2 separate regions of the Homo sapiens genome follow, and region 1 is linked to region 2. The links are contacts of gene promoters, found by promoter capture Hi-C in blood cells and fetal thymus (Javierre and others, 2016). All regions are on one chromosome and are shown on one strand. The core of a region is centred on a gene start or on the middle of the fragment in contact, and the rest is flanking DNA. Distances in the headings are between cores, read along the strand shown.

Region 1 (4,138 bases), core at 311-2,810, about 32 Mb after region 2:
CAAACAGTCTTTTTTCACACCTGAGACACCGGCGGTGTTCATTTTTGCTTTGGCAATCAAAATGGAAGAGGAAACTTGTGTGGTTTCATCACTGGTGCTTTCGGGGTGTGTGGGGCGGGCTGTCCTTCTCCCTCGGTCCTGGCTCATCGGCCCGAGCCCCCCTCCCCAGGCCTTGTGGCCTCCGGTCGGTCGTGGAGACATAAGAGGCCGCCTTTCCTCTGTTAACACCGGGAATGTGCCCCAGCCTCTCCCTCCTTCCTGCAAATCCAGTCCTTGTCCTGGAGAACCTCAGCGTCTTCTTATGCCTGCCTCTTTCAAAGCCTCGTAGGATTTACACCTGATTAACAACGTTTGCATTAGGATCGCCAGACACCGGCGCACGGCCCCGCAGGCCCGCGCGAATCTTCTACATTTTCATGTTTCGGATGTTGTCCACCTGACTTGATGCATATTCAAATGTCTCTCTCCCGACGTGGGAGGCCGGAGTCAGAACCTGACAGACCTGCCGTTTACTAACTGGGTACCCAGGGCAAATTACTTCACAAGTCTGAGTCTCGGTTTCCTCACCGTGAACCGGACTGGTACCCATAGGTTGCGGCGTGGATCAAATGAGATAGCGCAGGGGCGGGACCCGCGCACAGCAGCTCTCTTAGTTCCTCTTGGCGAGGTTTACGTAGTAACACATGCTTGTCTGTTTCCCATTTTTTCCCAGAGCACCCTCATGCTCTGGGGGCAGGAAGGGAGTCTTCGCATCACACCGAAAAAGTCCCAACGGGCACGGTGTAGGCGCCTGTGGTCCCAGCTACTCGGGAGGCTGGGGCAGAAGGATCGCTGGACCCAGGAGGTCGAGGCTGCAGTGAGCTATGACTGCGCCACCGCACTCCAGCCTGGGCGACAGAGCCAGACCCTGTCTTGATTAAAAAATAAAATAAAATAAAGAAATTAAAGTCCTTATAACCCTGGTTAGAGCGTTCCCGCCCACTGGTCTCTTAGGGCACATTTAGGACAACCTGAAGAAGCCACTCTTCTTGGGACCCTAACCCTTACCCCAACTCCTCGGTCCCCAAAGGCTAAGGGCTCGGGATCCGAAGGAGGCCCAGCTGAGGTCGCTGGGTGGGGCTCTGGGAGGAGGAAATGGGGTTCTTGAGGGAGCTCGCGCTCCAGCTCGCCTCCTCCTGCGAGGACGCCCCCTGCCCGGACACCTGCTGCCCGAGCGAGCGTCGGGGCCGGGCCTCCCCGCGGGGCAGTCTCGGCGCGCAGGTCCCACCTGCCAGGCGCGGAACGCGGGCGGCCTCGGGCGCAGCCTCCGGGCGCCCCGCCCCCGCCTCCCCCGCGCGGCCCCGGCGCCCGGCCGCACCCCCTCCCAGCCCGCGGCGCCCCGGCACCCCTCTCCCTCCCCGGCGGGCTCCGCGGAGCATTGTACTCACATCCGGGGCTGGGTTTTGCTTTAATGCGAAACGTAATTAACCCGGAAAAAAGAGCCGAGGGACGGGAGAGAAGGAGGGGGCACTGGGGGAGACCAGAGCGAGGGGAGCGAGAGGCGCGGAGAGTTTGGCAGGCAGACCCAGAAATCCCTGGAGCGCGGCGGACCCGGCGGCCGGAGGGGCGACCCCGCCCGATGTAACGCGCCCCGCCCGAGCCCCGGCCCCTGCACGGGGGGGTAAGTTGGGCGCCCTCGCGGGCTCGGGAGTGGAGAGGCGCAGAGGGGCGCGCGGGGGCTGGCGGGGCTGGGGGTGCAGGGGGCGCCCCGGCGGAGGCCTGGCGGCCTAGGGGCGCGAGGGGCGCGCGCGCAGGGCTGAATACGCCGGTCCTAGTGGCTGACAGGCGAGGGGAGGTGGCCGCAGACCCTGGAGGCCTCCTCCAACCCTCTGGGAGAGCCCCGAGGGCAGCCCCTCCTCCAAGTGCCCCGGGTGGCCAAGGTCGCCGCCGCCAGGGGTCGGGCTGCGGGGGGTGGGGCCGCGGAGAGGGTGGGGGCGGGAGTTCTGCTGAGCTGCATTTTCTCACGTTTGCAGCAGCGAAACTTCTCTGCGGGTTCTGGCGCTGGGGCACCGACCCCGCAACGACTGCCCGGGCTGCGGGAGGGGAGGAGAGCAGAGAACGTCCCCAGGCAAGTCCCTTGGGTACGGATTGGGCCATGGAGACTCCTCTTTCACTCCCCCGACTACCTTATTAAATGACAGGCCTAGAAGGCTCCCCTAGGGACTCCTGTCCTTTCCTCTGGGTGCAGCCTGGACTTCGGGCTTCTGGAACTCCAGACAGTGAAAAGGACTGCCCTAAAATGCAGGTTCGGTGCCAGGTTGGGTGAGCCCTCGAGGGGAGCTGTCGTTCTCTCTCTCACCAACTTCTTCCTCACCTTACACGCTTCCCTTTTCTCCTCCAGTCCTAAAGACGATTTCACCAAAATTTTTTTAAAAAGAAAGAGAAAAGAAGGGTGTGGGGGGGGGTGGTGGGAAGCTAGGCCGTTTAGAAGGGAAAAGTGTCCCTGCACGCCCAGAGAGGGGCGCAGGGCCCGCTGCGGCCGGAGCACCCTCACATCTCCTCCCCGGGGCCAGCCCTGCCCCCAGGCCCTAGCCTTAGGGTTTGGCTTCCTTCCTTCTTGGTGAACGCAGGTTCAGGATGTATCTTCCCCTTCTCATTCCTTCTTCCTGCCCGCCCCCTTTCTTTCTTTAGGGCTCCAAGTGGGGTTTTCAGAGGACAGTAAACGGCAGAGAAGAGGGAGGGGAGAGCACCCCACCAGAAAGCCAGCTGTGGCTCTGGGGGCTCTGAAGGCTGAGCTGTAGATGCACTTGGGGCTGAAGTCCCAAGATTGCACTAATGGTGTTCTTAATCTATCTGACCAAGTCCCATTTTCCCTTCTTTTGTCATTTTTTTTCTTTGGTTGCGAAGCCTTCCGAAACAGCAAAGCAAAAGATCTTGAAAGAATAGAAGTTTTTGCTTTCTATTTCAGTTGCATTCAGTTGACATGTATTATACATGCAAGGCAGTGATGAACAAAACACAACCCCTGTCTTTATTTTTTCTTTTTCCTTTACCTCTGGAGGGCTGGACCCTGTCTTTGGCGAGCTTACAGGACTTGTAAGCCCCCCACTTGTTTTGAGAAGCCAGAGTAAGCTTTTAGAAAGCATCATCATCATCTCAGACATTAGCCCTCTTCACCATGTGCCGCCTGAAGGCAGATGACTTTTGCACTATCAGAGGTCTAGCTTGTAGTCTAGATTATGGCCAGCCCAACGTATGACATGTACCAGGTGCTAAGTAAATGTTTATTGCATTAATGAATGAATGCAAACACATGAATTGTTTGCACTTGTCCAAATGGCAGAGAAAAGAGCAGTGTGGTTGTTCCTCAAACCTGTAGGGATTTGGTTCTCCAAGCTGGTACATGGGAGTTATTAGTCCGGATGTTGCCTTTACACCTAAGTATCCTTTGACCCTGTTTGTACATTACAGCATGCTTTCTACAAATTGTCTATGGCACTCCTAGTGGGGTTTTAGCTAGCTGGTAATGGGAGCCTTGCTCATTTCACAGATTGGTAATTACCTTGGTATTGATTGAGAAACTGCCTGCCCTTTGGTGAAGAGTTTTTGCAACCCTTTCTTTTTCCTTGTCATTGGTGCTTTCTTCTCTCTTCTGTGTTAAGGAAATAGGGCCTGCAGATCCCATCATGTCATGGTAGTGAGCTGAACCATATTCAGCTCGGTATTTTTGAGTGGTTAAAATAAATCTTGAAGACATGCAGGTTTTGGTTGGTGCAGGTTTTTGTTCTGCAGAAGTGGGAAGGGGAAGGCTGATGAGCCCTATCAGCTGAGCCCCAGAGCAGCCCTCCCACTACCTTGCCAAGTGTTTGCCGAAGTGCTAGGATACTAGGAAGACCCAAGCAGCGTTGGTCTCCTGTCCAATTCATGGGACAGATGGACAGGTGGGTGATGCCCCTGCTGAAAGGCTGGATGACTCAGATGAGAGCTTGCTGCAGACCACAGTGCATCAGAATATCTCTTCTGATTCACGGAAACTGCTGTGGCTCGACTTATTCCGGTTGTGATAGACCTAGGGCTTGGAAAAGAGGATCTGGGTGCTGGGACGTTGGGTTGCTCTGCCCCCTCTCTTTTTCCACCATGAACAGTTTGGGTTGCCTTA
Region 2 (4,475 bases), core at 1,758-4,257:
TTAAGTCACTATAATATTTATAACTCACTGCATACATTTAAAAATTTTCTGTAATCACTTTATTTTCAAAACATCATTCATAACTCATCAGAACTTCATAACTACTTAAATTTATAATTAAAAGCCTTTTTAAATTTATCATTAAAAGCCCCCCTCTCCCCACCTTTTTTTTTCTTTGAGATGGACTCTTTCTCTTTTGCCCAGGCTGGATTGCAGTGACGCGATCATGGCTCATAGCAGCTTTGAACTCCTGGGCTCAAGCAATCCTCCCAACTCAGCCTCCTGAGTAGCTGGGGCTACAGGCATGCACAATCACACCCAGCTAATTAAAAAAATATATTTGTAGAGATGGAGGCCTCACTCTACAAAGCGCTTAAGTGATCCTTCCTCCTTGGCCTCCTGAAGTGCTGGAATTACAGGTATAGGCCACCATGCCCAGCTGAGAAAAACATTTAAATATCAGTTTAAGAATGTGTGATGGGAATACACAGCATTCTTTCAAGGGGCATCTCAACAAATTTTAAAAAGAACACTGTGGCCCACTCCAGTGCTATGCATGAGAATATGGTGATTTCTCAGCTTCAGGCGTTCAAATGTGCCATTCTCCCATGGAAAGCCCACTAAGTCCCTCAAGCTTCACCTGAAATACCATTTCACTGAGAAGTCTTCCTTGTCTCCAGACTAAATTAGATTGCCTTGATATATGCTCCCAGAGAACCAAGAATGTCCCCTTTTCATCCCACAGGTAACTCCTTGTTAAATGTTGTACAAGGAAGGCATAGACAGAATTCACCTTTCACTGTTCCACTGGTGCCCAGCAGGGTATGCAAAGGAGGAAATCAGCTGTGCTCTGAAAGAAGCACCATTCCAGTAAAGGGGAGGAAAAGGTCATCAGACTGCAAGGGCTCAACAAAAGTACAAGGTAAGGAGGCAGAGGGTGTGGGCTGATTATCAACTAAGAGGTTTGCACGGAAAAAGGGAAAAAAAAAAAAACAGAAAAACAGGGCCGGGTAGTGGCAGAAAGAGAGGGTGGATCTGTGACTGTTCGCAGGAAGAGAGGAGCGGGAGCAGGACAGACAATAACTGATAGTCAGGAGCTGGGTTTGGAGATAAAGAGGGAACAAGAGAAAGTTAAGTTCTGTGTTTTCATGGCAAACATTGCACAAAAGTTTACAACTTCGTGACTAACAGTAATCTGGGGTGATTCACAACAAATTTACACATAAACACATATTTACTGACTTTATACACAGCAATCCTAACGTGAACACAGAACCTGCTTTATCTTTTCGCACACTGTTCTAGTGTAGAGATGTCTGGTCTCAGTTAAAGAAAGCATAAGGAGCATTAGTTGTGCACACTGTCCACACCTGTGACTTTTTTCCACCAGTACTAAACCTAGTGCTTCTTACAGTACAGGACAATGACAGCCACAGAAAGAGAGAAGCTCCTTTTACTGTGTAATGCTTCCTGCTGGCCTTCAAATACTTGTTACTTGAGAGATCTCCATTCACCTGGCTTTGTCCCCAAAGGTCATCATCTACCAATGATGTTGTTATTTGATGTTAATCATGTATAAAGAAAGTAGCTACCATCCTGGCCCTGATTAGAACTTCCCACTGAAATACCGTCCTGCCTAAAGGTAGCACAGGCTCCCATTATGGTGGTGGTGGGGAGGGGGCGGGAATATATATATATATATATATATATATATATATATATATATGGTAAAGCATTCGGCATTCTTTTAAAGTACAACTATCCTTGAAAAGGGTTACATATTAAACCATTTTTACCACAGCCAAAGGGGAGGAGAAAGATCCAAAAGTCCTGTGGATCTGCTTTAACATCAATAAAACAGTTATCCACCCTTCGTAGCTTTTAGTGAAGGCTACAAAAGTATGCTTTTTATGGATTACACATGTGCACGCAACTACTTTAATTACTACAGAAAAAAACGAGGCTCCTTATTAAAAAAAAATCAGAAACAAGTCCAACAGACTCTGAGGAAATGAAGCAAGAGTGAATTCTGAAAAGGTCTAATAAACAGTATGGAAATATCCTTGTGGGATTGTTCTTCAGCTATGCATAAACATGTAATTATCATCATTACTGTGATGGGGAAAAACACGGACCCTAATTCTGAAACACCCTGGTAGCGAGAGACGGGCAGGAGGGGCTGCTGCGCACTCAGAGCGGAGGCTGAGGAGGCGGCGTCCCCTTGCAAAGGACTGGCAGTGAGCAGATGGGGACACTCGAGCTGCCCCGCGACCTGGGCCGAGCTGCCTACAACCTGGGCCCAGGTGCCTGCAAGAATTAGACCTCCGATAACGTTAACACCCACTTTCTCACTGCTCTAATTGTGTGCATCCCGGCGCCCAGGGGCTTGTGAGCAGCAGGTGCGCGTTCCAGGCAGCTCCAGCGACCCTTAAACCTGACCGCGCGCACGTCCGGCCCGAGGGAGCAGAACAAGAGGCACCCGGACCCTCCTCCGGCCAGCACCCACCTTCACCCAGTTCCGTCAGTCGCCACCACCTCCCTTCCCGCGTCCGCAGCCGGCCCAGCTGGGGAGCATGCGCAGTGGCCGGAGCCGGGTTGCCCGCGCCCCAGCAGGTAGCTGTACTGCAACTGTCGGCCCAAACCAACCAATCAAGAGACGTGTTATTGCCGCCGAGGTGGAACTATGGCAACGGGCGACCAATCAGAAGGCGCGTTGTTGCCGCGGAGCCCCCTGCCCCGGCAGGGGGATGTGGCGATGGGTGAGGGTCATGGGGTGTGAGCATCCCTGAGCCATCGATCCGGGAGGGCCGCGGGTTCCCTTGCTTTGCCGCCGGGAGCGGCGCACGCAGCCCCGCACTCGCCTACCCGGCCCCGGGCGGCGGCGCGGCCCATGCGGCTGGGGGCGGAGGCTGGGAGCGGGTGGCGGGCGCGGCGGCCCGGGCCCGGGCGGTGATTGGCCGCCTGCTGGCCGCGACTGAGGCCCGGGAGGCGGGCGGGGAGCGCAGGCGGAGCTCGCTGCCGCCGAGCTGAGAAGATGCTGCTGTCCCTGGTGCTCCACACGTACTCCATGCGCTACCTGCTGCCCAGCGTCGTGCTCCTGGGCACGGCGCCCACCTACGTGTTGGCCTGGGGGGTCTGGCGGCTGCTCTCCGCCTTCCTGCCCGCCCGCTTCTACCAAGCGCTGGACGACCGGCTCTACTGCGTCTACCAGAGCATGGTGCTCTTCTTCTTCGAGAATTACACCGGGGTCCAGGTGAGCCGCCTCCCGCTCCCGGGTCTCGGCGTCCACCCGAGCTCCCGGGGGCGCGGACCTCTCCGCTCCCCCACAGCTGGCGAGGGTCACCCGGCCGGCCCGGCGGACCCAGCACGGAGAGCACGTGCCGCCTCCCCGCCTTCCTCTCCGCATGCTTCCTGCCGTTCTGCCGAGATCGCTCTCTAGGAAGCTGTGGCTGCGTCGTCCTGAGGCTACGAGTGGGACCCGCCGCCCCTTTCCCCGCCCCTCGCCTGGGTCTGATGCTGCTTAGCAAAGTGGGTGCAGATGCACGTTTTAAATAATAGGGCACGCGTTTAGCAGTTTCTGGCCTTTGGTCCAAAGAGGTGGTCATGTTGGAACAGATCGGAGACGTCTACACTCCGAAGTGCGCTTTTACAGTGACCTCTTGAAACAGAAGTACAATTCGGTCTTGTGTTCTTTCCCCTGGACAAGTGAAAGCTGGGCGAAGAAATGAATACATTTGTTAACCGTAGAAGCCTAACTAGATACATTTCTTGCCAACTTTAACTGGGCTTGAATGTGTGGGTGATCTGTTGTCTGATTACTTTCTTTCTGTTACTGTTTCTCTGTAGAGATTGGATTCGTAGATTAAACTTGAGAAACAAACCATAAAAGTGGAAGGCCCTCTTTAACAGTAGGTATTTGAAGTGTTATAAAAAAAAAAAAAAGGTGAATTTTTCTTTTATTTCTCAGTTTGAAAGAACAGCTTTATTCTTGGTTATTCCTAATGTCCACCTAGTCCTCTTTTACTTTTCTTGGTAGGGTTAGGGTGGCATGGGGAAATGGGACGGTATCATTTTGTCTTTTTAACTTTTTTTTTTTCCACCTACAGCAGCTGTTTTTACCCTGTGGTCAGTCAGGTACTATATTTAGTTTGCAGTTGCACTGCTGATCGACCCTTGATGGCCCCAGTTGGAAGTTGTTTGGGGGGAAGGAACTAGGAGAGGCCAGGGCCTCCATTTAAACCAGTGTCTGTAAGTGTCTCCTTGGAAAGAAAAAAAGATACTGTTCCAGGTCATGGTTTCCTGGTAGTTGACGTTTAAAATGGGCCTCATTTAAAAATTTCAATAATTCAGGCTAATTTTTTCCCTTTATATGGTAACTCCACCAAGTTTGTCTAAATGTATGATTTTTATCATGATTAAGTTTTTACTTCCACATCATGTGACAACTGGCCTGGGATGGGATATAAGCTCAGAAC

Evidence for each region. Contacts are between HindIII fragments. The CHiCAGO score rates a contact against its expected background, and 5 or more counts as called.
Region 1: the fragment with the promoter of PLEKHA2 here is called in contact with the fragment with the promoter of AGPAT5 in region 2 in 1 of 17 cell types (non-activated CD4 T cells); the score reaches 5.5 in non-activated CD4 T cells.

What each region holds. Positions count from the first base shown.
Region 1 is chr8:38,899,786-38,903,923 of GRCh38, forward strand. PLEKHA2 (pleckstrin homology domain containing A2) reads left to right here and starts at 1,561. Exons shown (of 12, transcript NM_021623.2): 1 at 1,561-1,660. It overlaps LOC124901937 (a long non-coding RNA gene), which reads right to left and starts at 1,660. Exons shown (of 2, transcript XR_007060893.1): 1 at 1,428-1,660; 2 at 1-911. RefSeq lists enhancers at 1-162, 223-472 and silencers at 1,073-1,482, 1,563-2,232. The HindIII fragment of the contact is 6,068 bases long and covers 1-3,109 here.
Region 2 is chr8:6,705,635-6,710,109 of GRCh38, forward strand. It overlaps AGPAT5 (1-acylglycerol-3-phosphate O-acyltransferase 5), which reads left to right and starts at 3,008. Exons shown (of 8, transcript NM_018361.5): 1 at 3,008-3,253. The coding sequence starts at 3,035. It overlaps MCPH1-AS1 (MCPH1 antisense RNA 1), which reads right to left and starts at 2,575. Exons shown (of 5, transcript NR_125386.1): 1 at 2,507-2,575. RefSeq lists silencers at 2,762-3,101, 3,162-3,401. The HindIII fragment of the contact is 5,238 bases long and covers 633-4,475 here.